Regions from separate parts of the Homo sapiens genome. Here all the other regions are linked to region 1. Evidence: promoter capture Hi-C in human tissues and cell types (Jung and others, 2019). All regions are on one chromosome and are shown on one strand. The core of a region is centred on a gene start or on the middle of the fragment in contact, and the rest is flanking DNA. Distances in the headings are between cores, read along the strand shown. Region 1 holds the start of ZNF599 (zinc finger protein 599). Region 2 overlaps LINC02965 (long intergenic non-protein coding RNA 2965). Region 3 overlaps LINC00904 (long intergenic non-protein coding RNA 904). Region 4 overlaps ZNF302 (zinc finger protein 302).

Region 1 (2,700 bases), core at 189-2,688:
TACAGGCCCAGAACAGAATAGTTTTGGGCCTGGGGATGAAAAACAGAACAGAAGCTGACATTCTGGGGTTGGGGGACAGATCCTCAGCAATAAACAATCAAGATAAAGTCAGAAGACTCTAGAAAACAACACAAGAGTGAGAAGACCACAAAGACTGGGAGAGACTTTACATGATGCAACCAGGGAAGCTCTCTCTGAAGAGACCCTGGAACAAGGTTAGATTGAAGTTAGAGAACAGACCAGGTGAGGAAAAATGAATAGACAACTCCTGAAGGTGATCAGAGCTACGAGGAGTAAACAGTGTGACATGCTGGAGAGTAACTTGGGGCCTTATGTGCTCACACTCCAAGAGACATACATTCATGTACACTGTCATTAATGAATATTGTGCTGGATTTGCTTTTCAAATACAAGAGCATGTGTTAAACAGAAGCACGGATTCACTGCTGTTAGGCGGCAAGCCAGATTCATTTGTAATAAACAGACGGCATCTGCAAAGATAAATCCAATGAGCTTCTTGTCTTCTAGCCTCCTGCCAAAAATGCTGCTCCCGCCTCACCTCTTGCCCTCGAGGCTCTCATTCCCTCTCCCAGCTTTTGGTAGGGCCAGACTTCCGCTGGAATGATCCCCTAAAACAACAGCAGGACCTAGAGAGTCCTTCTTCAAAGACGGCACCTAGAGTGATGCTCTCCGAGCAGTGAAAGACAGGACCCACGTCACAAGCGTACCCTCTCCAGCTCCCTCCACAGAGAAAATTACTGAGACTCGCATTTTAGACCCGAGGGAATGGAGGCCGAGGGCAGCGAGGCGACAGCTCCAGGTTAGAGCCAGAGACAGGGACCTCTCCTTACAACTCCTGTCCTGGATTCAGGACCCTGGGTAGGAAGTGATTAGCCCTGCCCTCTCACCTCACCCTCTCCCGGGATCTCCATAACCTAGGGCATCAAAAGGGAGAAGCACAGAGTCCCGGCATCCGCCGTATTACAGCGGATGGGTGCATGCGGGCGGTGACCCGAGCTCGCGCGGGCTGCGGAACCCTCCACTCACCAACGCCGGCGCCGCCATGGGCCCAGGGGGCTGGGTGAGGCCGTGAGAGTCGGCGAGGAAGCCGGTCCTGCGGGCTCGGCCGACCCCGGGCTCCGGCTCTGGGCTGCGAGGGACCTCAGTCCCCGCCGTCGTGTAAAATGCACACAAGGTTCGCGGCGCCGCCTCTGCGCGCCGTGAGGACACAGGGCTGTCGCCAAGGCCCCAGGAAGGGTTTTGCAGACGCTTGTGGGGGTGGGATCGCGGCTGACATAAAAGCGTGTAAGTGGGTCCTATCCTCCTCACTGTCCGTCTCTACTCGGTCTCGAAAAGTGGCCCCTGTCTGGCGTTCTACCCAGTGTAGCGTTGGCAACCACAGCAGCCGCAACCTAACGGCGGACGAAGACTGGACGCCGGAAGTCCCGCCCACGCCGCTACGGGAACGCCCCTCTGCGCCTTCCGTCTATGGCTTGGGGTCGGCTTCCGTCCCTTGTAGCACTGCCTTCTGGGTAATGTAGTTTGACGGAATCCGGGTGGTACCTGGAGCGCACTTTCTGTTCTCGGTGAGGCGGCTTCTCAAGGCTCCCAAGAAAGGGATTGGCTTCACCTCTTCTTAAAGGAGAGGCACACAGAGTTCCGTGGAAATTATCTGAGGCAATGACCCACTCTCAAATGTCTCTACCAGGCAACTCACGCCTTGACTTTCCTCCCTGTGTATCCCTGCGCCAGCAGTTCATCTCTCTGAGCCTTGAGATGGAGATTCCTAAGGAAAATGAAGATAATTATTTAATATGATAATATTAAAATTTCCCCTATCAGTAATTTTCAGATGACATCAGCATTACCTGCGAATTTGTTACCAATGCAAGTTCTTAGTCCCCACCCACTGAATCAGGTACTCTGGGGGGTGGGACCCAGCCCTCTGCTTAACTTGTCCAGGAAAAGTGGATGCTGCAAAACATTTGAGAACCAGACTCTTTAAATTCCAGTAAATAAATGAGACAAAGCCACCTGTTTGGTGGGAAGTAACTAAGAATTGCTTAGCACTGGGCCTGGAACATACCGATAAGAACATAAGAGCTATTGCTGTCATTATTAATATTCTGTATTATTGGCAACATCATCACAATACACTGCTAGGGGAGGGTCTGAGATACTTCTTTGCAGACTCTGATATTTGTCAAAACAAATACGTTGACTGATTCAACAGGAGCCTCATGAATACTGTTTAAATTTTACATAATAATACGTTGCAGCATTTGGCGTATGCATCTTTTTAAAACGGTATATGCAGGAGGGTTTCCTAATATACAGGTAGACCTATTGCCCAAGGGATACTTTCTTACATGATTCAAAACTTAGGATCACTGAGACTAATTACCTGCAGCCCTAAGGGAAGAGTGGAGTTGACATGGTTTCTAGTTTGTGATGTAAGATGGCGTGTCACTGTTCATCTCTAATTCACAGCAACCAGGATCTGACCCCTCCCCATCTGCCCCTCCAGCCCCCAGGGAAGCCAGAACCAGGCACAAACCAGATGGCCCAGCTTATGCCCAGCAACTCAGGGTCACCAGATCTTGTCTCATCAAGACACTTTCAGCCCACCACCCAAACCTGTAGCCCACATGAAGAGGGCAATAATCCTGGACACTGTGAAAAGTAAAAGCATTACATCCA
Region 2 (2,773 bases), core at 1-2,500, 70 kb after region 1:
AAAAGGTTGGGGACTGCTGCCCTAGACCAGCTTTCTGGATTCTGGCTGAAACGGACAACTTACCAATATTAATTCTTCACTCCACCAGCTGATACACACACACACACACACACACACACACACACACACACACACATTTGTACGTGTATTAGTATACGGCAGTTTACAGAAAAATAATTGTTTTATATATATTGATCTTGTATACTAGCACCTTGCAAAATTCATACCTTACTTTTTATAATTTTTTATAGATGGATTATAGGATTTTCTGCATACACAATCAGGATTTCTGTGCATTGAGTAGTTTACCCTTTCCTTTTAAATCTGTATGATTTTAATTTTTCTTATCCTCCACATTTGCTGCAACCTCCAATACAACATTGAATCCAAGAGAAGTCAATGGACTTCATTTTCTACTTCCTGATCTTGGGGGGAAAATATTCAGTATGCTGTTAACTGAAGTTTTTTTTCGTTCAATGCATGCATTATCACATAAAAGAAATAAGGAAATTCCGTCCACTTCCTACTTTACTGAAAGATTTTTTTTGAAAGGAATATTAGCTTTTTTCGATTAGTTTGTTCACAACTATTGAGATGAATTGTATCGGCTGATTCTTTTCTAATAGCTTTTTTGAGAGACAATTCATGTAAAATACAATCCATGTATTTGAAGTATAGAATTCAATGGCTATTAGTCTATTCACAGAAATGTGCAACCATCAACACAATTTTGTAAAGTATTCATCACCCCAAAAAGAATCTTTGTACACCTTAGCCATCACCTTCTAATACCCCCACACCTCCCAGTTCTAGGCAAGCATTAATCGACTTTCTCTCTTTGAGTTTACCTACTCTGGACATTTCCTGTATGAAACCATAGACTATGTGGTTCTTTCTGGCTGGATTCATTCATGTATTATAATAGTTTTATATGGCATATACATAACACAAAATTTACCATTTTAACAATTTCTAAATGTACAATTCACTGGCATTTAGTACATTTATATTGTTGTATAACCATCGCCACTATTCATCTCCAGAACTTTTTCATCATCCTAAATTGAAACTCTGTACCTATTAAACAATAACTCCCCAGCACACATTCCCCACAGCTCTGGTAACCACTATTCTGTCTCTATGAATTTGCCTATTCCAGGTATATCATATAAGTAGAATGACACCTTTGTCCTTCTATGTCCAGGTTGTTTTACCTGGCATAGTTTTTTTTCAGGTTTTATCCATATTGTAGCATGTATTAGAATTTCCTTCCTTTTGAGGCTGAATAATATGCCATTGTATGTTTTGTTTCCCCATTCCTACATTGCTGGATACCTGGGTTGCTTCCAGCTTTTGGCTATTGTGGATGATTCCACTATGAACATGGGGTACTACTGGGAAATAGAGTAGAATGAACCTGACATTTATTCAACAACACAGACACATCTCAAAACCATTATGCTTATCAAATACCCACACCCAAAACTGCATACTCTGATTCTGTGTATAACAAATTTTAGAAATAGCAAGATTAATATGAAATGTCAGAAAGCGGATAAATGGTTGTTTGTGGTTAGATATGCGGAGGAACTAACAACAAAGGAGCATAAGGGGATTTTTTAGGATGATGGAAATGATCTGTACCTGAATTGTGGTGGGGCCTTGAGTGTACACATTTGTTAAAACTTAGCGAACATAAAACAGGTGCATTTTTCATGTAAATTTTACCTCCAAAAGGTTTATCCGAAAAAAAACATTTGATGCAAAGGCAGTCACAACGTCATGCTAACGTCGTTGATTGTTTTATAGGCAACTGCTATTGCAGTTGACGATATGAAATTGACGATAATTAGGGCAGAGATAGACTATGTGGTTCTTTGTGGCTGGGCTCACTTACGTAGCGTAATGGTTTTATATTGTGTATAAACAACATAAAATTTACCATTTTAACAATTTTTAAATGCACAATTCACTGGCAATAAGTACATTTATATTGATGTACAATTATTGCCACTCTCCATCTCCAAAACTTTTGTTCATAACTGCTATGGTAGTTTGTAATATATTTTAGACAATTCATTTAGAAAAGATTAATGCTAAGGAAGGGGTATGGTGGATAATAGGAAGGCAAGCAGTGGGGGTGCTGGGCAGGGGGTAAGGCAGGAAGAAAGACAAAGCAGCAAGTAAGCTTAGATGCAGAGAAGGCTTGCTGACATGCGGACCTTGTCCGAGCATCTGTTGCAACATACCCTGATGAGAAGTTCATGTGCAATGAAACTCCAACTCCTGGGACCTATGTGTGGAACACTGGGACCCTGACCCCGTCAGATCAGTCAGATCCCCTTTCTCCAGAGCAGATTGGTCAGCACAGGGAGACAACAGCTCAGATCTTCGCCCTGTGAGATCACTTATGGGAGGGGCTGCCCCGACCCCCCACATCTGACTCCCCCATGCTATAGTTTGGTTTGTTTGACCCCTCCAAATCTCATGTTGCAATGTGATCCCCAGCGTTAGAGGTGGAGCCTGATGGTAAGTGTTTGGGTCATGGGGTTGGAGCCCCCATGATGTCTTGGAGCTTTCCTCACAGTGATGAGTGAGTTCTCACTCTATTAAGCCCTGCAAGAGCTGATTGTTAAAAACAGCCTGGCACCTTCCTCCCCTCCTCTCTCGCTTCTTCTCTTGCCTAGTGATCTTTGCACATGCCAGCTCCTCTTTGCCAGCCTAAGGCCCTCACCAGAAGCAGATCCTGGCATCATCCTTCTTATACAGCCTG
Region 3 (2,748 bases), core at 201-2,700, 120 kb after region 1:
AGCGGATATCCCCTGCAAAGGCCATCATCCCCACCAGCCCACCTGCTTTTATGGTCAGCAGCCCTACTTGAACTTCTAAGCTTGCTTTTGATTCAGGAAACACTTACCAGCTGAAATCTGGGGGTCCTGATTCAGGGCCTTGCCAGAGAACCACTCCCCCCAGTGCCCTGTCTTTTCTGGCCCACCTACCACTGATTCTGCAGTCACCTCCACTCCAGTATACAACCCGTCTTCAGACTTGGTGTCTCCGCCTGACTTTGCCTCTAAGGAAATCAACATGGGTACCATGCCCATGTCCCCATCTGTTATCATCCTGTCTCTCCCTGCAATGTTAACAGCTGTTTCCCTTTGAGAAACCTGCCAGCCCCTGAAAACCCTTCACACTTAACCTCTACTGCAGCCCTAGAACCCAATGGCAGCACAACTCAGTTGGCTTTTGGGAACTAAACACTCCCGTGTCCACTTTGGCATCAATGTCAGCATTCAGGCAGCCCATGGTGGTGCCTCGGGTGTTTTACCCATTGGTGTGGACACTCTTACTCTTGCCATGAAATGCTACCAGAAAGCACAACACTGAGGACTGTTGCTCATTTCTTGCTGATGCCAATCCAAGCCAATTTGTATTTGTGGGATCTGAAGCCCTTATGGATAGCAAAAGCTTTGGGGTCATTGGGTCTACCACGCAGAGTCTACCACCACATCTAGATCGCTTAGCTTTGGAGCAAAATGGCTGGGGGACAGCCAGTACCACAGCTCATGATGGGGGAGGCTTAGACCTGAGCGCCAGGGTCCTGTCAGCCCTGATGCACTCCTGCTGCAATTGGAGAAGCCGGCACTGCTGAGAGCAAATCAAATCTGCCCTGGGAAACACTTTCCTTCCCACCTGTAGTTAGAGCACCTGGTGCCAGCCCAGCCAAAACACGCCTACTACTACTGGAAGATTTGTGATCACTGAGAAGGAGTGTTTCAGAAGACATGGCTGTTCCCCCTTTTGTTCAGATCACCTGGGACCTGTTTGGCCAGAGCACTTGTGTTCCAGTGGAAGGGACCAGCACCATACCTGTGCTGAGATCCTTCTCTTCCTGCCCCAGTCAAGCCACCTGGGGCACACCTAACTAAAGTACACCTGTTGCAGTCTAAGGGACCAGCACTGCATCTATGCTCGGATGCCTTTATGTTCCTACCTATAGCCAGAACACCTGAATCCCACCTGTCCAGGGCACGTGTGTTGCAATGGAAGGGGCCAACATCATACCTATTTTTAGAGAGTCTTCTCTTCCTGCATATGGTCTAAGTACTGGGGCCCACCTGGCCAGAGCAAACCTGCTGGAGATACCTGCACCACTGAGAAGAAATGCATGCCACGTGATATATCTGTTCATTCCTTCCATCAGACACCTAGGGCCCACCTGTGCTGTTTGAAGGGCTGGCATTTCACCTGTGATTGGAGATGCTACTGGCAGAGGACCTGGGGTACACAGTCTGGAGCACAGGTGATACACTGGGCGGAGGCAGCCCCATTCCTGGGCTCCAGGGTATTTGTATGCTCAGCATCATTGACAGCTGCTGGCGTGGTCTTGCCCAGGGCACATCTGTTACAGTCTCCCAGGAGAACACCATACATACACCTTTAGGAAGACACTTCTATTCCTGCACTCACTCACAATACCTGGGCTCTATCTAGACAAAGTAGCCCTCTGACTTGGTGTAGTGAACACCATTGAGAAAATACCTGGCTATGGGCCAGTTTTCCATTAGTCTTAGACTGGCAGGACCCCTTGCTGCCTATAGATATCCCGTTTTGTCTTGCCCATTTGCCTTAACAAGCCCCGTTCTTTCTTTTCCAGATTGCTATACAAATATGATATAACATAGCCTTGTTCTTATTCATTAATCCTCTGTGCTAAGCTTCAGCACTTTTGCTCCATCTTTCAGGGCAAATGTACCTCCAGCATGAGCATGGAAGCAGCAGTCTCGCTTAGGACACATTTGTCACCTGCCCAGGCTTCCTTTGGAGGCCAAAGTTTGGGATCACCAACTCATTCATTTTCTTCTAGTGAAAGAAACAATATCTCATCAACTTTAAGCAAAAGCTATCCAGAAGTAGCTGATAGTGGTGGGGGACCACAGTTTGCCATAAATGGACCTTGCTCCATTAGGAAGAGGCTCCACCTCTTCTAGTTATGTCAAACAAACTTAACCTGCCCTCTATCATCCTAAAGAAAGCTGGCAGCCCAACCCTTCAGGTGTTTTGTATATATGTTAAAGGGTGTGGGTTCAGATGAGACTGGTCAGAAGTCAACACACTGGCCTTGAGGCAGTCTACTGTGGAAAGAAGAAAAAGATCAGTAAGTATATCCACCACACCATACCCAGTTTCAACTTCTCAGTCTGGTAGAACCAAGCTATGGGCCAGTTTTCCTGCCATCTTACGCTGGCAGGACCCCTTGCTGCCTGTAGCTGCCTCCTTTGGTCCAGCCCATTTGCCTCAGTGGGCCCTTTTCTTTCTTTCCTAGACTGATAAACACACACACACATATATATATACACACACATATATGTTATATGTGTATATATATATACACACACATATAATGTATATGTATGTGTATATATATACATATATACATCACGTGTGTGTATATATATATATATAGAGAGAGAGAGAGAGAATGCCTTCCTTTTGTTCATTGATCCTCTCTGCTTACATGTCTTTTCTATTTTAGTCAACGGTGGAAGAAGAATTGA
Region 4 (2,700 bases), core at 110-2,609, 88 kb before region 1:
GGATTCTCTGCTCTATTTGAGCATTGTTCAGAAGTCACTGAAATATTTGAGTTGTCAGAACTATGTGTTTTCTGGGTGCTTCATTTCTTATCCAATTCTCCTAATTCCACTGTAGAAGCTTTTTTCAAGAAGTAAAAAAAAAAAAAAAAAAAAAAAAAAAAAAAAAAAAAAAAAAAAAAAAAGGCAGTGCTTTGCTTTCTTGATATATTTCAGATTGGGAATCAAGATGGGAAAACAAGGAATTATCAACAAAGAAGGATATTTATGATGAAGATTCACCCCAACCAGTAACAATGGAAAAAGTTGTAAAACAAAGTTATGAATTTTCAAATTCTAATAAGAATTTGGAATATACAGAATGCGACACATTTAGAAGCACCTTTCATTCAAAGTCTACTCTTTCTGAACCACAAAACAATTCTGCTGAAGGGAATTCACACAAATATGATATATTAAAGAAGAATTTATCAAAAAAGTCAGTTATAAAAAGTGAGAGAATAAATGGTGGAAAGAAACTTTTAAATTCTAATAAAAGTGGGGCAGCCTTCAACCAGAGCAAATCTCTTACCCTTCCCCAGACTTGTAATAGAGAGAAAATCTATACATGCAGTGAATGTGGGAAAGCCTTTGGCAAACAGTCAATCCTCAGTCGCCACTGGAGAATTCATACAGGAGAGAAGCCCTATGAATGTCGTGAATGTGGGAAGACTTTTAGCCATGGTTCATCCCTTACACGACATCAGATAAGCCATAGTGGAGAGAAACCTTACAAATGCATTGAATGTGGGAAGGCCTTTAGCCATGGCTCATCACTTACTAACCATCAGAGCACTCACACGGGAGAGAAACCGTATGAATGTATGAACTGTGGAAAGTCTTTTAGTCGTGTGTCCCTTCTCATTCAGCATCTAAGAATTCATACGCAAGAAAAACGCTATGAGTGTCGTATATGTGGAAAGGCCTTCATTCATAGTTCGTCTCTCATTCACCATCAGAAAAGCCATACTGGAGAGAAGCCTTATGAATGTAGAGAATGTGGGAAAGCTTTCTGCTGTAGCTCACACCTTACTCAACATCAAAGAATTCACAGTATGAAGAAAAAATATGAATGCAACAAATGTCTCAAGGTCTTTAGTAGCTTCTCATTTCTTGTTCAACATCAGAGTATTCATACTGAAGAAAAACCGTTTGAAGTTTAGAAATGCAGGAAATCCTTCAACCAGCTTGAATCACTGAATATGCATTTGAGAAATCACATTAGATTGAAACCCTACGAATGCAGTATATGTGGGAAAGCCTTTAGTCATAGGTCGTCCCTGCTTCAACATCACAGTATTCATACTGGAGAGAAACCTTACGAATGTATTAAATGTGGGAAGACCTTCAGCTGTAGTTCAAACCTTACTGTACATCAGAGAATTCATACTGGAGAAAAGCCATATAAATGTAGTGAGTGTGGGAAAGCTTTTAGCAAAGGCTCGAATCTTACTGCCCATCAAAGAGTACATAATGGAGAGAAACCCAATAGTGTGGTAAGTGTGGAAAAGCCTTTAGATCATATGAATCCCTATACATGTGAGAAATCTTACAGAAGAGAAGCAGTGTTTATCACGGTAAACTTCATTCATAGATCCTCCCTTATTTAACATCAGAAAAATGTATACTGGGGAAAAGTTGTATGAAGGTGGTGAACATGGGAGACTTTTAGCAATGATGCAGATTTTTTTATTAGAGTTTATACTGTAGAGAAATCATATGAAGTCAATAAATGTGGGAAAGCCTTTGTCAGTATTAATCCCTTAATTGACCTAAGTATACTCACACTAGGAAAAATCTGTGTACATGTAGCAAATGTGGGAAAGACTATAGGCAATAGGAATCTCCTGCAAACTCCTACAGGAGAAAAGTTGTATGAATGTGGAAACTTTAGAAATTGAAGGAATTTTTCAGTTCCAAGTGCATCCCTTATTCTATAGGAAATAAACTGGAGACAAATCTCATTTAAGAGATGCAGCAAAGTGTTCACTAAGAGTGTTTATCTTGCCAGACATAAGAAGATGAATGGTAGAGCAACCTGAAGGATTTAGAAATTACATATAAATCTTTGCAGTTATGCTATTTGTAAACAGGATTATATAGGAGAGCAAATAAACATAAGTATGCATTTCTTAGAGCAGTAGCTTGCAGTTTCAGTTGAGTTCTACTTAGAAATTCTTTTTAGCTAGTGGGCATGTGAAGATATTTAGTCACCCAGAGGAGCCAGTAAATGTTATAATGTTAAAAATTAAAGCTGCAAAAGAAATAAAATGGTGTTAATAAAAATTTGGCATCTAATAAAATCATTTTGTATATCATGAACTCTTTCTCTGTGACTGTTTGCGACAAAAAAAAATTTCACTAAGATTAGCCTTAGTATAGCCTTTAGCGGGAGACTAGCAAACTTCGAGAAGAATGGCCTGCTCTTTATACTAAGAATAGCAGTATTTTGGTGAGGATTATTGAGTCCATATCCAGTAGGCTTAATTAAATACATTTCAAGAACATTTACTGAGCATTACTCATGTGTATTACACAGGGATGGGATAAAGGAATCTAGTAGTTCTGAGCTCTAGTGCTGTGTCGAAATCACTGGAAGGACGTGTTAAAGCACAGATTGCTAAGCCTCAGTCCTAGAGTTTCTGTATGAGTTGATTTGAATTT

What was found. Contacts are between HindIII fragments. The study calls those that stand out against the background at their distance.
Region 2: a fragment that was not itself captured here is called in contact with the fragment with the promoter of ZNF599 in region 1 in 2 of the 25 tissues and cell types used here (H1 embryonic stem cells and spleen).
Region 3: a contact is called between a fragment that was not itself captured here and the fragment with the promoter of ZNF599 in region 1, in 2 of the 25 tissues and cell types used here (dorsolateral prefrontal cortex and thymus).
Region 4: a fragment that was not itself captured here is called in contact with the fragment with the promoter of ZNF599 in region 1 in 3 of the 25 tissues and cell types used here (bladder, dorsolateral prefrontal cortex and mesenchymal stem cells).

The regions. Positions count from the first base shown.
Region 1 is chr19:34,771,777-34,774,476 of GRCh38, forward strand. It overlaps ZNF599 (zinc finger protein 599), which reads right to left and starts at 1,439. Exons shown (of 4, transcript NM_001007248.3): 1 at 1,048-1,439. The coding sequence starts at 1,065. It overlaps LOC124904696 (a long non-coding RNA gene), which reads left to right and starts at 1,571. Exons shown (of 2, transcript XR_007067234.1): 1 at 1,571-1,918; 2 at 2,491-2,700. RefSeq lists a silencer at 1,090-1,149 and an enhancer at 1,260-1,369. The HindIII fragment of the contact is 7,437 bases long and covers 1-2,700 here.
Region 2 is chr19:34,842,221-34,844,993 of GRCh38, forward strand. The region is part of intron 3 of LINC02965 (long intergenic non-protein coding RNA 2965); the gene reads left to right. Among named protein-coding and RNA genes, the nearest start is that of LINC02965, 4.9 kb to the left of the region's middle. The HindIII fragment of the contact is 8,258 bases long and covers 1-2,773 here.
Region 3 is chr19:34,889,972-34,892,719 of GRCh38, forward strand. LINC00904 (long intergenic non-protein coding RNA 904) reads right to left here. Exons shown (of 6, transcript NR_187844.1): 6 at 1,861-2,325. Among named protein-coding and RNA genes, the nearest start is that of LINC00904, 14 kb to the right of the region's middle. The HindIII fragment of the contact is 4,130 bases long and covers 1-2,748 here.
Region 4 is chr19:34,684,039-34,686,738 of GRCh38, forward strand. It overlaps ZNF302 (zinc finger protein 302), which reads left to right. Exons shown (of 5, transcript NM_001289187.2): 5 at 214-2,358. The coding sequence ends at 1,199. Among named protein-coding and RNA genes, the nearest start is that of ZNF302, 7.7 kb to the left of the region's middle. The HindIII fragment of the contact is 3,944 bases long and covers 1-2,700 here.